2 separate regions of the Homo sapiens genome follow, and region 2 is linked to region 1. Evidence: promoter capture Hi-C in 16 types of primary human blood cells and fetal thymus (Javierre and others, 2016). All regions are on one chromosome and are shown on one strand. Each heading gives the region's core, a stretch centred on a gene start or on the middle of the fragment in contact. The rest is flanking DNA. Distances are from core to core; before and after follow the strand shown. Region 1 holds the start of UTP3 (UTP3 small subunit processome component). Region 2 holds the start of YTHDC1 (YTH N6-methyladenosine RNA binding protein C1).

Region 1 (7,024 bases), core at 2,613-5,112:
CAGCCTGGGTGACAACAGTGAAACTCTGTCTCAAAAAAAAAAATTATCATCTTAATCATGAGAGTGAAAGGAGGTGCTATTAATAATTACACTGGGATAACAGGTTAAACAGGGCCATCCAGGGCAAGCCAGAATGTATGATCACCCTATGCTCCTAAATTCCATGCTGTTCTTCCACAACATTTTATTGATCTGCTCTTCCAGTGACGGATATCCAGGTTGTCTCTAACTCGCTGCTACCAAAAATAACTTTTCAAATAGCTTCGCACAGGTCCCCTTATGGATGGGCTTATGTGAGAATTTCTTAACCAAAAAGATATCTGCAATGATTTATAAATTTCTGATACAGGTAATTCTGAACACCCAGAAGATTGGTAAAGTGACAAATGAGAATAAAGCATAGTAGAGTACTTAGCTTAGCATTGAAGGTTTTTGTAGTAATGAAAGGTATGACTGGAAAGGTTGTTTTGGGGTAAAACTTTAGGACAGCCATGTATGCTGTAAATTTTGTTAGTAAACGAAAGTTTTTACTATCTGGATAGTAAATGAAAGTTTCTGAACCAGGATATGCGGTGACAGAAATGATATTCTAGGAAGATATATCTGATGTACCAGATCAAATGTACCAGAGACTAAAAGGAGGAGACCTATTAAAGGAAAAGTTGAAAGCCAGTATAGTATAGTAGTTAGTTATAGCACAACATGGATTCTGAAGCTGGACTGTTCTAGTTTAAATCTAGTTCTAACACTTATTAGCTTTATGACCTCACTTAAGCTATATGCGCCTAATTTTCTCATCTCCAATTACAGATTATTATAGTAACTTTTCACAGGGTTATAATGGTTTCAAGAGCTTGTAATGGTATCTAGCACACAATAACCACTCTCAATGTTAGCTATTATTAATTATAATTGTTTCAATAGTCCAGGAAGAAATAAAGATTAGTTTAAGCTAATGTGATCATACAATACCTCCAACACCCAGAATAAATGCCCTGAAAGAAGTATCCTAATGTATCATCACCTAATGTGTCATTCATAGACTCCCTAATTTCCATAGTAAGAAAATCCCATAAAGGGCTTAGAGTAAGGCAAAAACAATTTTTTTTTAACCTGCTGGCTCTCATTAGTGTAACTTGCTAACTCCTGAGCCAGACATCACAATAAAATAAAGATTCAGATTGGCTGGGTGCGATGGCTCACACCTGCAATCCCAGCACTTTGGGAGGCTGAGGTGGGCAGATCACCTGAGGTCAGGAGTTTGAGACCAGCCTGGCTAACATGGTGAAACCCCATCTCTACTAAAAAAAAAAAAAAAAAAAACACACAAAAAAATTACCCAGGTGTGGTGGCAGGTGCCTGTAATCCCAGCTACGTGGGAGGCTGAGGCAGGAGAATCAATTGTTCTTTATCAAAAGGATCTGAAAAACTGGGTGAAGCGGCACGCACCTTTAGTCCCAGCTACTCAGGAGGCTGAGGCAGGAGATCACTTAAGCCCAGGAGTTCTACCCAGCCTGGGGAACACAGCAGGCACCTGTCTCTAAAAACAAAGGATCTGAGAATGTTAGAATACGATACTCTCTGAATATGCATTGAATACTGCAACTCTGTTCTGGTTAGGAAATTTAACATTTAGTATAAACTAAATAATATTAATGTGATCATTCCCATTTAAAATATCCAAAATATTTTTCTAACTTATATATAATAGTATATGCATTTTAGTCTTGAAGTCTGACACTAAATTCTCAAATAATTTGCAATAAAAATGAAAAATTTTTATTTATGTGCCTAAATGCAACAGTGTTTAAATAATGAAAATTTAACATTTAAAGTAAGGAAATAACTACAATTCCAGCATAGATGTCATATTCTTTAAGCAATATTCCCAAAACAGCAATCTAAAGGTTATCTCTTATCCTTCTGTTCTCTTACAGCACCGGGTTTACATCATACACTGCCTTGTATTCCAGTAATCTGTATGAGTGTCTTCTTTTCTACCTGATTATACAGTCCTTAACTGGCTGATTCATCACTATTGTCTGTAGCATTCTACAACAAACAGTAAGCAGTTAATATCTGCTAAATGACAAAATGTACTAAAATTTACATTAAAAAATAAATTCATGCTTACCATCAGAACATAACTTTTGCCCACAACTTTCTAATTTAATTTTATTTTCTAAAATCTTGTAAAAATTTCAAAATGTTTCGGACACCTTTAGGCACTTGGAAAATGTTTATTTCAAAGTATCACTTTTCTAACATTTTGCATTATTTTTATTAACCTAATGACACTATACTTTCTGAAAAGAAATTGTCACCATTGGCTGGGCGCGGTGACTCACGCCTGTAATCAATCCCAGCACTTTGGGAGGCCGAGGCGGGCGTATCACGAGGTCAGGAGATGGAGACCATCCTGGCCAACATGATGAAACCCCGTCTCTACTAAAAATACAAAAATTAGCTGGGAGTGGTGGCGCGTGCCTGTAATGCCAGCTACTCGGGAGGCTGAGGGAGGAGAATCACTTGAACCAGGGGGTCGGAGGTTGCAGTGGGCCGAGATTGCCACTGCACTCCAGCCTGGCAACAGAGCGAGCCTCCGTCTCAAAAAAAAAAAAAGAAAAAAAGAAAAAGAAAAAAGAAACAAAAAACAAAAGAAAAAGAAATTGTCACCATTAATTTTATTTTATTTATTTATTTATTTATTTTGAGACAGAGTCTCTGTCTGTCGCCCAGGCTAGAGTGCAGTGGTGCGATATCGGCTTACTGCCACCTCCGCCTCCCGGGTTCAAGTGATTCTCCTGCCTCAACCTCCCGAGTAGCTGGGATTACAGGTACCCGCCACCACGCCCCGCTAATTTTTTGTATTTGTAGTAGAGACTGGGTTTCCCCATGTTGGCCAGGCTGGTTTTGCACTCCTGACCTCAAGTGATCCACCCACTTCGGCCTCCCAAAGTGCTTAGGATTATGGGCATGAGCCACCGCGCCCAGCCATGTCACCATTAATTTTAGCAACGTATCAAAAGTTCAGCTTCCAACTACCTACATTAAAAGGTATAATAATACTAACCCTGAACCTTACATATGTAATGCCTAAAAACTTACACCCTGAATTACTCTAACATTACAGGGCAGACTTCCTTGAGAAGAGTCAGACCCTGCAGCGGGGCTCTGCCTTCCCACTGTCAGCCTCGGGGTCATCTAGCTTTATCGATCCCCATGGAGCGGGTCACCGAGCCCTGTGAGCAGGGAGAGGGCGATGGGGATGAGTAAACCCGAGCCGGAGGCCCGGCCTGCGCTCTCGCCCGGAAACCTCCCGTGGGATTCTGGAGTCCAGCGGCGCTGCCTGAGGCTGTGGTACCCAGAAATATGGTATTGGGGGTGGGGGTGAAATGAGAGGAAAGCAATCTGATTAACTTCCAGCCTGATAAGCAGAAAAGAGAAAACAAGGGAGCAGGAAAACTACGCTAGCACTAGACTGCCGGTCGCAAGCGCCGGGTACACACGCAGTTAAACCTCAATGGAACGCCCCCGGGACTTCTCCGGGGCGTAAAGCGCAGCGCCCTCTATTGGCCATCGGGACCTCGCCTGGAGGTGCCGTCAGGATTCCGTCCCCCAGCCACTCCCAGGCACTCGAGAGTAAGCGCATTAGCCCGAGAAAGCGTTCTGTGGAACGGAACTTCCTTATCCTATCGTTTCCACACGGAAAGATTTTAATTCACCGGAATCGACTGGCGTTAAAGGGCACAGTGAAAAGGAAGTTGGTATCAACGTGATCTCGACTAAGGGACCGAGCGGAAGTCCTCAATCGTACGCCACGCGGAGAGCATGCTGGGGGCCGGAAGGAAGAGGAAATTCCAGTAGCCGATCAGGAGTCTGCAAACTCCGGTGGTAGGGGAGCGCGCTGCTGTTTAGAGCCACGAGTTACCGGAGCGCCTGATTCCTGCGCCGAAGTCAGTGGTGGCCGAAAGTCCGGAGTCGCTGTAAAACCTGAGATTGTGAGCCATGGTGGGGAGATCCCGGCGGCGCGGAGCAGCTAAGTGGGCAGCTGTGCGAGCCAAGGCAGGTCCCACGCTCACCGACGAAAATGGAGATGATTTAGGATTGCCACCCTCACCAGGGGACACCAGCTACTACCAAGATCAGGTAGATGACTTTCATGAGGCACGATCCCGGGCCGCCTTAGCTAAGGGCTGGAATGAAGTACAGAGTGGAGACGAGGAGGATGGCGAGGAGGAGGAGGAGGAGGTGCTAGCCCTAGATATGGACGATGAGGACGACGAAGATGGAGGGAATGCGGGGGAGGAGGAGGAGGAGGAGAATGCCGATGATGATGGTGGGAGCTCCGTGCAAAGTGAAGCTGAGGCCTCTGTGGATCCCAGTTTGTCGTGGGGTCAGAGGAAAAAACTTTACTATGACACGGACTATGGTTCCAAGTCCCGAGGCCGGCAGAGTCAACAGGAGGCAGAGGAGGAGGAAAGAGAGGAGGAGGAGGAGGCACAGATCATTCAGCGGCGCCTAGCCCAAGCGCTGCAAGAGGATGATTTTGGTGTCGCCTGGGTTGAGGCCTTTGCAAAACCAGTGCCTCAGGTAGATGAGGCTGAGACACGGGTCGTGAAGGATTTGGCTAAAGTTTCAGTGAAAGAGAAGCTGAAAATGTTGCGAAAGGAATCACCAGAACTCTTGGAGCTGATAGAAGACCTGAAAGTCAAGTTGACAGAGGTTAAGGATGAGCTGGAGCCATTGTTAGAGTTGGTGGAACAAGGGATCATTCCACCCGGAAAAGGAAGCCAATACTTGAGGACCAAGTACAACCTCTACTTGAATTATTGCTCGAACATCAGTTTTTATTTGATCCTGAAAGCTAGGAGAGTCCCAGCACATGGACATCCTGTCATAGAAAGGCTTGTTACCTACCGAAATTTGATCAACAAGCTGTCCGTTGTGGATCAGAAGCTGTCCTCAGAAATTCGTCATCTGTTGACACTTAAGGATGATGCTGTAAAGAAAGAACTGATTCCAAAAGCAAAATCCACCAAGCCCAAACCAAAGTCTGTTTCAAAGACTTCTGCTGCTGCCTGTGCTGTTACAGATCTTTCTGATGATTCTGATTTTGATGAAAAAGCAAAACTGAAGTACTATAAAGAAATAGAAGACAGGCAAAAGCTAAAGAGAAAGAAAGAAGAAAATAGCACTGAAGAACAGGCTCTTGAAGATCAAAATGCAAAGAGAGCTATTACCTATCAAATTGCTAAAAATAGGGGACTTACTCCTAGGAGAAAGAAGATTGATCGCAATCCCAGAGTGAAACACAGAGAGAAGTTCAGAAGAGCCAAAATTAGAAGAAGAGGCCAGGTTCGTGAAGTTCGTAAAGAAGAGCAACGTTATAGTGGTGAATTATCTGGCATTCGTGCAGGAGTTAAAAAGAGCATTAAGCTTAAATGAAGTTTTTGCTTAGCATAAGGTTTTTGGCAGTTTTGGATCAATAAATTTTTACTTTTAACTAAAGTCATTGTATTAATATATAATACTTTAAATTTTAAAAATTCTTGTCCACAAGGAAATTTGTCTGGGTTATTGGACAATTTATAAGAACTATGGGAGCAATATGAAGGTGCTTGAGAAAAGAGATGATGTTGAAGTTTTCCAATATTCTGTTGAAGTTTTCCAATATTAAGTATTAGCTTAGGGAAATTTCACAGTTCATTGTGGAGTGTTAAACTTAGAACATGTGTAACTTTTCACATAAAGAGAATGCATCTTTGACAGTTATCTTATTTGTAAGGCAGCCTATAAAATAGTTCTGAAGTATTTTATTTACCTAACTATAATTATTGGGCCAGATACTTGTTAATAAATGGGCTTAATGTTAACATGGATTTCATATGTTCTGTGTGGTTTAAAAGCATAGGAATGAAACTTTGGTTAAAAGCAGAAAAAGGAAAAGATATGCCTTAATTACATCAATTGTCAATATTTTCTCATAGTTCTTCATGTGGCAAATAAGGTAAAAATCCCATTTCCCCTTCTTTACTGGTGATTTGCAGTGGTTGCTGCTTGTACTTGCACTCCATTTGCTAAAACTTTGATATGATTACTACCAGGTAAGTGGTAACTTTAAGTGGCAACAAAGTTCCATTTTTCTTTTTTTTTTTTTTCGAGATTGAAGTCTCACTCTGTAGCCCAGGCTGGAGTGCAGTGGCAGGATCTCTCAGCTCACTGCAACCTCCACCTCCCGGGTTCAAGCGATTCTCCTGCCTCAGCCTCCTGAGTAGCTGGGATTACAGGTGCTTGCCACCACGCCCAGCTAATTTTTGTATTGCTAGTTGAGACAGGGTTTCACCATTTTGGCCAGGCTGGTCTCGACCTCCTGACCTCAAGTGATCTGCCCGCCTCGGCCTCCCAAAGTGCTGGGATTACAAGTGTGAGCCACCACGCCCAGCTCAATGTTCCATTTTTCTTTTCTTTTTTTTTTTTAATTATACTTTAAGTTTTAGGGTACATGTGCCCAACGTGCAGGTTAGCTACATATATATACATGTGCCATGTTGGTGTGCTGCACCCCGTAACTCGTCATTTAACATTAGCCATTTTTCTTTGCTGCTACACTGGTCTTTAAATAGGGGGAAGATGTTGAGGTGGTAAATGTAAAAATAGGATGTTGCCAGGGAAGAAAATGAGAGGACTAGTGAAGGAAACCACAAAAAAAAGTCCTAATTTCCTAATTGTGTCACTGTTTATTCAGTAAACACTGTGCTAGCTGCTAGAGATGCAGAGATGACGCTTGGTTAATATTTATGGAACACTTGCCATGTGCTAGTTGTACATCACCTCATTTAATCTTTACAATAACTTTGCAAGGTGATACTGTGCTCCACAGATGAGGATGCTGAAATTTTGGAAGGTTGACTTTCTAAAGGACATCTGCTTGAAATCTGAACCCAAACCAACTTGAGCATTCATTCTCTTAACCTCTGGCTTACAGCTGCTTCCTCAGAGTAGCACACAGGACAAATTATTT
Region 2 (7,002 bases), core at 792-3,291, 2.3 Mb before region 1:
ATCCTATGTATAGACAACAGGTGATATCACTACTTCCCAGTAATAGCTACACAGTTTATGTATTTGGACTGCATTATCATCACTAAATCATTTCTAAAGCAAAACTTTTAAAATCATCTACTTTTCTTCTTCAATGTGCATTACTGCGTCTACTCTATTAACGACTTGTAAATATTTTCATCTTAGACAACGAATTCTTGAGAAGTACTGAATTTTACTCATTTTTGTGTTTGGTTCATTTCGCCCACCACAACCACTACAGACTCCCATATCCACAGTTCATAAATTAGAAAGACAATCAGATGTTTGCTGAATACTTACTAATTAAGATCATGTATTTTAATAACTGAGTTAACTAATTAAAAGCATTTTCCTTTACTCACTAACACCATACAATCCTATGTTCCCATTACTTCTGGATTTCTCAAAAAAAAAAAAAAAAAAGGCCCAGGGAGATTTTTTAGCATTTAGTTTAAGGATGGAACATTAAACTGCTATAACCTAATCAAAGAACTACTTTAGGATAAGGGCAGTATCTTAAAAGTATTCCCACCCATTCCACTTTCCCAGCTTGTCCCTAACCTAGGGCAGTTCATTGAAGCATGAAGACTCTCCTGATGCAGAAACCAGAAAAATTAAGAAAAAAGGATTACACGCCTAATGTAACTTGACTCTAGAGCCCACTTAACAACCCCCGACAAAAAAACCCCAAATCAATTAGGCACACAGAAGAGATGTGTGAGACACAGAGCAGCGACCGTGTCATATTTTTAACTATAATCTTTCCAAGACTATTATGTTAATCTTAGGGTTGAAAAAGATCTTAAAGCAGCATTTAATCTAGACCACTCTCCAGAGAGACACTGATCTAGGACCTACATTAATATCTCTAGGGCTTGGGAACTTAGTATTACTATCTTTCCATTACAGCAACGTCAGTTCTCTCTACATTTCACTGAAATTTATCCCTCCAACTCTCTGTAACTTGCATTCATTTGTTTCTGACTGTACCCTCTGGGAGCTACACACGGTTTTTCTAACATAATAGCACCCAGGATTTCTTTGCCAGCCTAAGTCACACAGTCATCTTTCCAAACTAAGTATTCCTTTTTCCAAGTACTATGTTTTTCCAAAATAAGTATTCGAGGAACAAAACGGGTAATTCACTTTGCCTATTTAACAGGAACAGCCAGAAGTTATTTGCAGATATTTCTCAAGATTAATAACCTGCCAGTGCCACTTCCTAAACTTGCTCACTTACCACACCACCAGTGTTGATCGCGGCATTAGGGGTTTTCAAATTTTAGCCTAACAGAAATGGTTGTCCTGAAAATACGCGTTACATCCGCATGATCCTACCAGGAAATAAACCTAGGAGCTTGCAACTCAGAAAGGGCCCCTCTCAGCCCAAGACAGCTAAACGGAAAGTCAAGCGTGAAATCCGCATCAAAGAAAAACCCTACTGAGATGAAGTGCTAGGCCATATGGAGACTGAGGACGAAAGGGCAGGCCTGGTCTCCGCCAGAGTCTAAGTGTCTCGGTGGGGGCCACCGGCTCCTCGCGAGGCCAGCTAACCTCCCCAACCCCCACCCCCCACCCCCAACGACGACCACTGCTCCATCACCCCACTCCCGGGCCCCAGCCTCGCCTCGGCCCGTCATCTTTCTCCGCACTAACCTTTCTCCTCCCGACTGTCAGCCGCCATGGCTCCCCTTCGGTTTCCGCCGCTGCCACCGCCGCCGCCGCTTAGACGCGACTCGCGCGGGCGCCGCAGCCGCGGCAGAAGCACGGGCCCGTCCGTCAGTCCGTCTGCCCGGATACGCGCGTCGCACTTGGCCTCTTAACACTCAGCCTTCTCGACTCTTCCCGCTTTTTCCCTTTCTCCCTTCCTTTCACTCCAGCATCCAGCGGCCTAGGCCCAGCCTTCTCGTTAGGGCTCAGACTCGGGCTAGGTATGGGGGAGGGAAGGGAAACAGATGGCGACGGCGGGCGGCGCTAAAATGGAGCCTGCTTCCTGCGCGAAACAATCCCGCTCCCGAAATGCCCTGCGCTGTTTACGCTTCGTTCCTCTCTGGGAACGTCACAGTGCGGAGAGGGGCGGGGAGGCGGGGACGTGCAAAGGAACGTGACGTGACGTCAGCGCGTCGCCCTGCCGCCCTCAGCCCACTGGTACCTGGAAGGAGTCTTATTCAGGGATTAGGTTACCCAGGTTGTTCATGGAGTTCCCGCTGTACGGCCTATAACTGGATGGCGCAATTTTCCCACCTGAAACTCTTAGTGCAGGGCCTAACAGGCCTTCTTAGCTAGAGTCGCTCTAAAGGACTCCTGATTCAGTTCGGGTAATCGGAGTCTTATTTAGGACAAGTCTGGGTGAATCCCTTATGTTTACCAGATGTACTTTCTTAGTTGGAGTTCCACTCTTACCCAAAGGCAGTGCAGCATGCAACCAGCTTGTTTGTAGTCACAAAAGCCTGCTAGTTTTTGTTTGTTTTGAGACGGAGTCTCGCTCTGTCGCTAGGTTGGAGTGCAGCAGCGCGATCTCGGCTCACCGCAACCTCCGCCTCCCAGGTTCAAGCGATTCTCCTGGCTCTGCCTCCTGAGTAGCTGGGACTACAGGCGCCCGCCACCACGCCCAGTTAATTTTTTTATTTTTAGTAGAGACGGGATTTCACCATGTTGGCCAGGATGAAGTGCTGGGATTACAGGCGTGAGCTACCACGCCCGGCCTAGTTTTGTTTTTAATTGGGGAAAGAATTGTATCATAATAGGTCTTTGTAATTAATAACTAATTTAAACATGTTATCAAGGCCCTGGGGCACAAAATTGATTTAAGCAGACCATCGAGGAATCGAAACTACAGAATAAATGACCAGTAGATACATAACTACATAGTGTGGTAAAATCTGCAAGAGAAACTTGCTTAAGATTCATTGTCCAACGGAAACAATCTAATTTTGCTTCCTTGAACTATAACTGAGTTATAAGGGAAAGAAAAATCTGAAAAAGGTAACTAAGTAACTTCGTGATATGAAGACAAACTGGCAAACTAACTGCATATTCAGGGAAAGACAAGTAGTCTAGAAGTCTAGAATGTGGTACCTCTTTTTTTTTGAGACGTGGTCTCACTGTGACACAGGCTGGAGTGCAGTGGTGTGATCATGGCTCACTGCAACCTTGGGCTCAAGTGATCCTCCCACCTTAACCTCCCAGGTAGCTGGAACTACAGGCATGCTCCACCACATCCGACACATTTTTTGCATTTTTTGTGGAGATATACCATCTCCGCAAGATGGCTAACACCTAGCCATCTTGCCCAGGCTAGTGTCTAAATCCTGGGCTCCAGCAATCCTCCCACCTCGGCCTCCCAAAGTGCGGGATTACAGGTGTGAAGCCACCAGGAGTGGCCCCATTTCTAGGACCTTAATTGAACACTAATTTGAATATACGAACACGCACACGCCACAAACACACACACACACACACATTAAATAATATCTGATGATCCTGAGGAATTGCTATTTGTATTTTTAGTTTTAATAAGTTTTGCTTTTTAAAGAATTTCTTATAATTTCATGATTCATATGAAAATATTTGCAGGCCAGATGCAGTGGCTCATACCTGTAATCCCAGCACTTCGGGAGGCCCAGGCGGGCGGATCACCTGTGGTCAGGAGTTTGAGACCAGCCTGACCAATATGGTGAAACCCCGTCTCTGCTAAAAATACAAAAATTAGCCAGGCATGATGGCATGCGCCTGTAGTCCCAGCTACTCGGGAGGCTAAGGCAGAATTGCTTGAACCCGGGAGGCGGAGGTTGCAGTGAGCTGAGATTGTGCCACTTTCACCCCAACCAGGACAACAGAGCTAGACTCTGTCTCAAAATAATAATAAGAATAGTAATAAATATTTGCAAATGAAATTATATGGTATCTGGGATTTATCAAACTGGTGGCAGGTGTAGCGAAATGGGTAGGAGAATAGATTAAACAAGTCTACCCATGAGTTAACAATTGTTGAAGCTGGGCGATACATATGTGAAAGGAAAATCTCCCCAACATCACTAAGCCAAAGGAAGAAGTCAAGCTGGTGATTGATGTCTCATGTATCCCTAAAATGTATAAAATGAAGCTGTGCACGACCACCTTGGGCACATGTCATCAGGACAGCTTGAGGCTGTCATGGGCTCTTTCTTAACCTTGGCAAAATAAACTTTCTAAATTGATTGAGACCTGCCTCAGATACCTTTTGATTTCCACATACATTAGTTAATATTATACTCTCTTCTCTACTTTTTTGCATATTTGAGTTTCCTTTAATAATTTTTTGTAAAGAAGAGCATAAGAAAACAGCCAAGTAATTTAGAAGATATCAAAATGCCATTTTCCCTGATTCTACATTTGTCCTATTAGAACTAAGGAGTAATTTTTAATGTAAATAGAATTCCATATTTGCATCTTTGTTATTAAAATAAGTTTATGGGGCCAGCTGCAGTGGCACATGCCTGTAATTCCAGCCCTTTGGGAGGCCAAGGCAGGTGGATCACTTGGGCTCAGGAGTTTTAAGACCAGCTTGGGCAACCTGGCGAAACCACATCTCTGCAGAAAATAAAATAAAAAATAGCTGGTCATGGTGGTGCACACCTGTAGTCCCAACTTCTCTGGGGGCCAAAGTGGGAGGATTGCTTGAGCCGGCGAGGTCAAGGCTGCAGTGAGACATGATTACGCCTCTGCACTCCAGCCTGGGCAACAGAGCTGGACCCTGTCTCAAAAAATAAAATGAAGTAAGTTTATGTTAAACTAAGAGCACAGCTGTAAAAAAATGCGGTTTTTAATTCAGTCATGTTAGTAAATAGGAAAAGTTGTTGAGGTTATAAAGGATGAACTCTAGGTATGTTGAACATTGGTCTGAAGCTATTGTGTAGTGATTAAGAGAGTAAGCTTTGCAGTCATAATGACGTGGGTACAAATTCCAGCTCTGTCTCTCAATAGCATGAGACCTTAGAGAAATTAACTTCTAATCTTTAGTATCTTAATAAATGGGAATTTAGAAATAATTTCCAAAGGATTGCTATAATGTTTCAAATGATTTTTTTAAAGGCAGTTAAGTGATCAATAAGCTGGAGCTATTGTTATTTTTATTGTTTCTGTAGTTCAGGAAAGATGGATTGTTCTAACAATTATTGTTGGTGAACTTAACCAGAAAATGTAGTATTGAGTGACTCAGATTTTTGGCCTAGCTATGGGTGGAAATAACTTTCTGGGTAAAGATGCTGAACTAAAAACTTGCAGCCAAAAATCCTCTTCAGACCTCAGGGATCATCACAATATAATTGTAAAAATATAACAATGAACATGGAAGTACAGATATCTCTTTTGAGAGCCTGATTTCAATTGTTTTGGATATATACACAGAAATAGAATTGCTGGATCATATGGTAGTTCTATATTTGAGGAACTTCCATACTCTTTTTTTTTTTTATATAGTCGCTGCACCGTTTTACATTCCTGCTATGGTGTATAAGTATTCCAATTTCTCCGTATCCTTGCCAAAACCTGGTATCTTTTGAAACAACTTATACGTCTGTTGAAAGATGAATGGGTTAAAAAACATATGGTTTATACATTCAATTGAATACTATTCAGTCTTAAAAAAGAAGAAAATCGGCCAGTCACAGTGGCTTATGCCTGTAATCTCGGCACTTTGGGAGGCCAAGGCAAGCCGATCACTAGACGCCAGGAGTTGGAGATCAGCTTGGCATACATGGCGAAACCCCATCACTACTAAAAATACAAAAGTTAGCCTGGCATGGTAGCTCGCACCTGTAATCCCAGCTACTCAGGAGGCTGACAGGACAATCGGTTGAGCCTGGGAGGCAGAGGTTGTAGTGACCCGAGATCGCACCACTGCACTCCAGCCTAGGCCGCAGAGGAGAGACTGTGTCTCAAATAAAAATAAAAATAAAAATAAAAAAAGGAAATCTTGCTGTATGTAACAACATGAATGACCCTGGAGGATGTTCTGCTAAGTGAAATAAATCAGTCGGAGAAGGACAAATACTGTACTGCATGATTCCACTTCTATGAAGTATCTAAAATATTCACATTCACGGAAACAGTAAGATGGTTGTTGCCAGGGACTAGGGGGAAAGGGAAATGGGGAGTTGCTGTTCAACAGGTATAAAGTTTTATTTCTGCAAGACAAATAAGTTATAGAGAGCTGCTGTACAATGTTGTGCCTGCTGTTAATGATACTGTATTCTGCACTTAACATTTTGTTGAGGGTAGATTTCATGTTCAAGGTTCTTACTGCAATAAAATTTTTTTTAAAAAACCTCAATAATTACCAAAAAATTATTTCAATATGTAGTAAAAAGAAATATAATGCTTCTGAAGGCAGTTCCTTTTGTACTGATGATAACGAATTGTGAATTGAGATGAGTGGAATTTAGCAATAAAAAGTGTCAAGAGCATTGGGCAATATTGATGTCAATTCTACCTAATTTCATCTATAGATTTGGAACAATCCCAATCAAAACCTCAGTGCTTTTTAACAGAAATTCACAATATTGAGTTTCTTGTTAATTGAAATTTACAAGGAAAGGTAATGGATATAGGATATCGAAAACAATTTTGGAAAACAACAACAATTTTGGAGGACTAGCATTACCTGATTTCAGGGCTTACTACAAACTTATGGTATCAAGATAGTGTGGTATTTATGTAAAGTAAGACAAATACATCAATAGATCAGAACACAGTGTCCAAAAGTAGAGTCACAGATATTATGGTCAATTGAATTTGACAAAGGTACCAACATAATTGAAATGTGTAGAAGGATAGCCTTTTCGACAAATAGTGTTGAGGCAATTAGATATACATATGGAAATAAATGACCGTGACCCCTACCTTACATAATACACAAAAATTAATTCAAAATGGATGATAGGTCTAAATATAAAAGTTGTTTTAAAACTTCTAGAAGAAAACATGGGAGAAAATTTTTAC

The links. Contacts are between HindIII fragments. The CHiCAGO score rates a contact against its expected background, and 5 or more counts as called.
Region 2: a contact is called between the fragment with the promoter of YTHDC1 here and the fragment with the promoter of UTP3 in region 1, in 3 of 17 cell types (naive CD8 T cells, total B cells and total CD8 T cells). The highest score is 10.1, in naive CD8 T cells.

What each region holds. Positions count from the first base shown.
Region 1 is chr4:70,684,670-70,691,693 of GRCh38, forward strand. UTP3 (UTP3 small subunit processome component) reads left to right here and starts at 3,863. Exons shown (of 1, transcript NM_020368.3): 1 at 3,863-5,882. The coding sequence starts at 4,009. The coding sequence ends at 5,448. It overlaps LOC101927297 (a long non-coding RNA gene), which reads left to right. Exons shown (of 4, transcript XR_938860.3): 4 at 1,938-2,147. RefSeq lists enhancers at 2,788-3,758, 3,139-3,228, 3,759-4,727, 3,929-3,988. The HindIII fragment of the contact is 6,672 bases long and covers 1-5,437 here.
Region 2 is chr4:68,348,049-68,355,050 of GRCh38, forward strand. YTHDC1 (YTH N6-methyladenosine RNA binding protein C1) reads right to left here and starts at 2,042. Exons shown (of 17, transcript NM_001031732.4): 1 at 1,678-2,042. The coding sequence starts at 1,705. RefSeq lists an enhancer at 1,411-1,990. The HindIII fragment of the contact is 7,711 bases long and covers 1-4,933 here.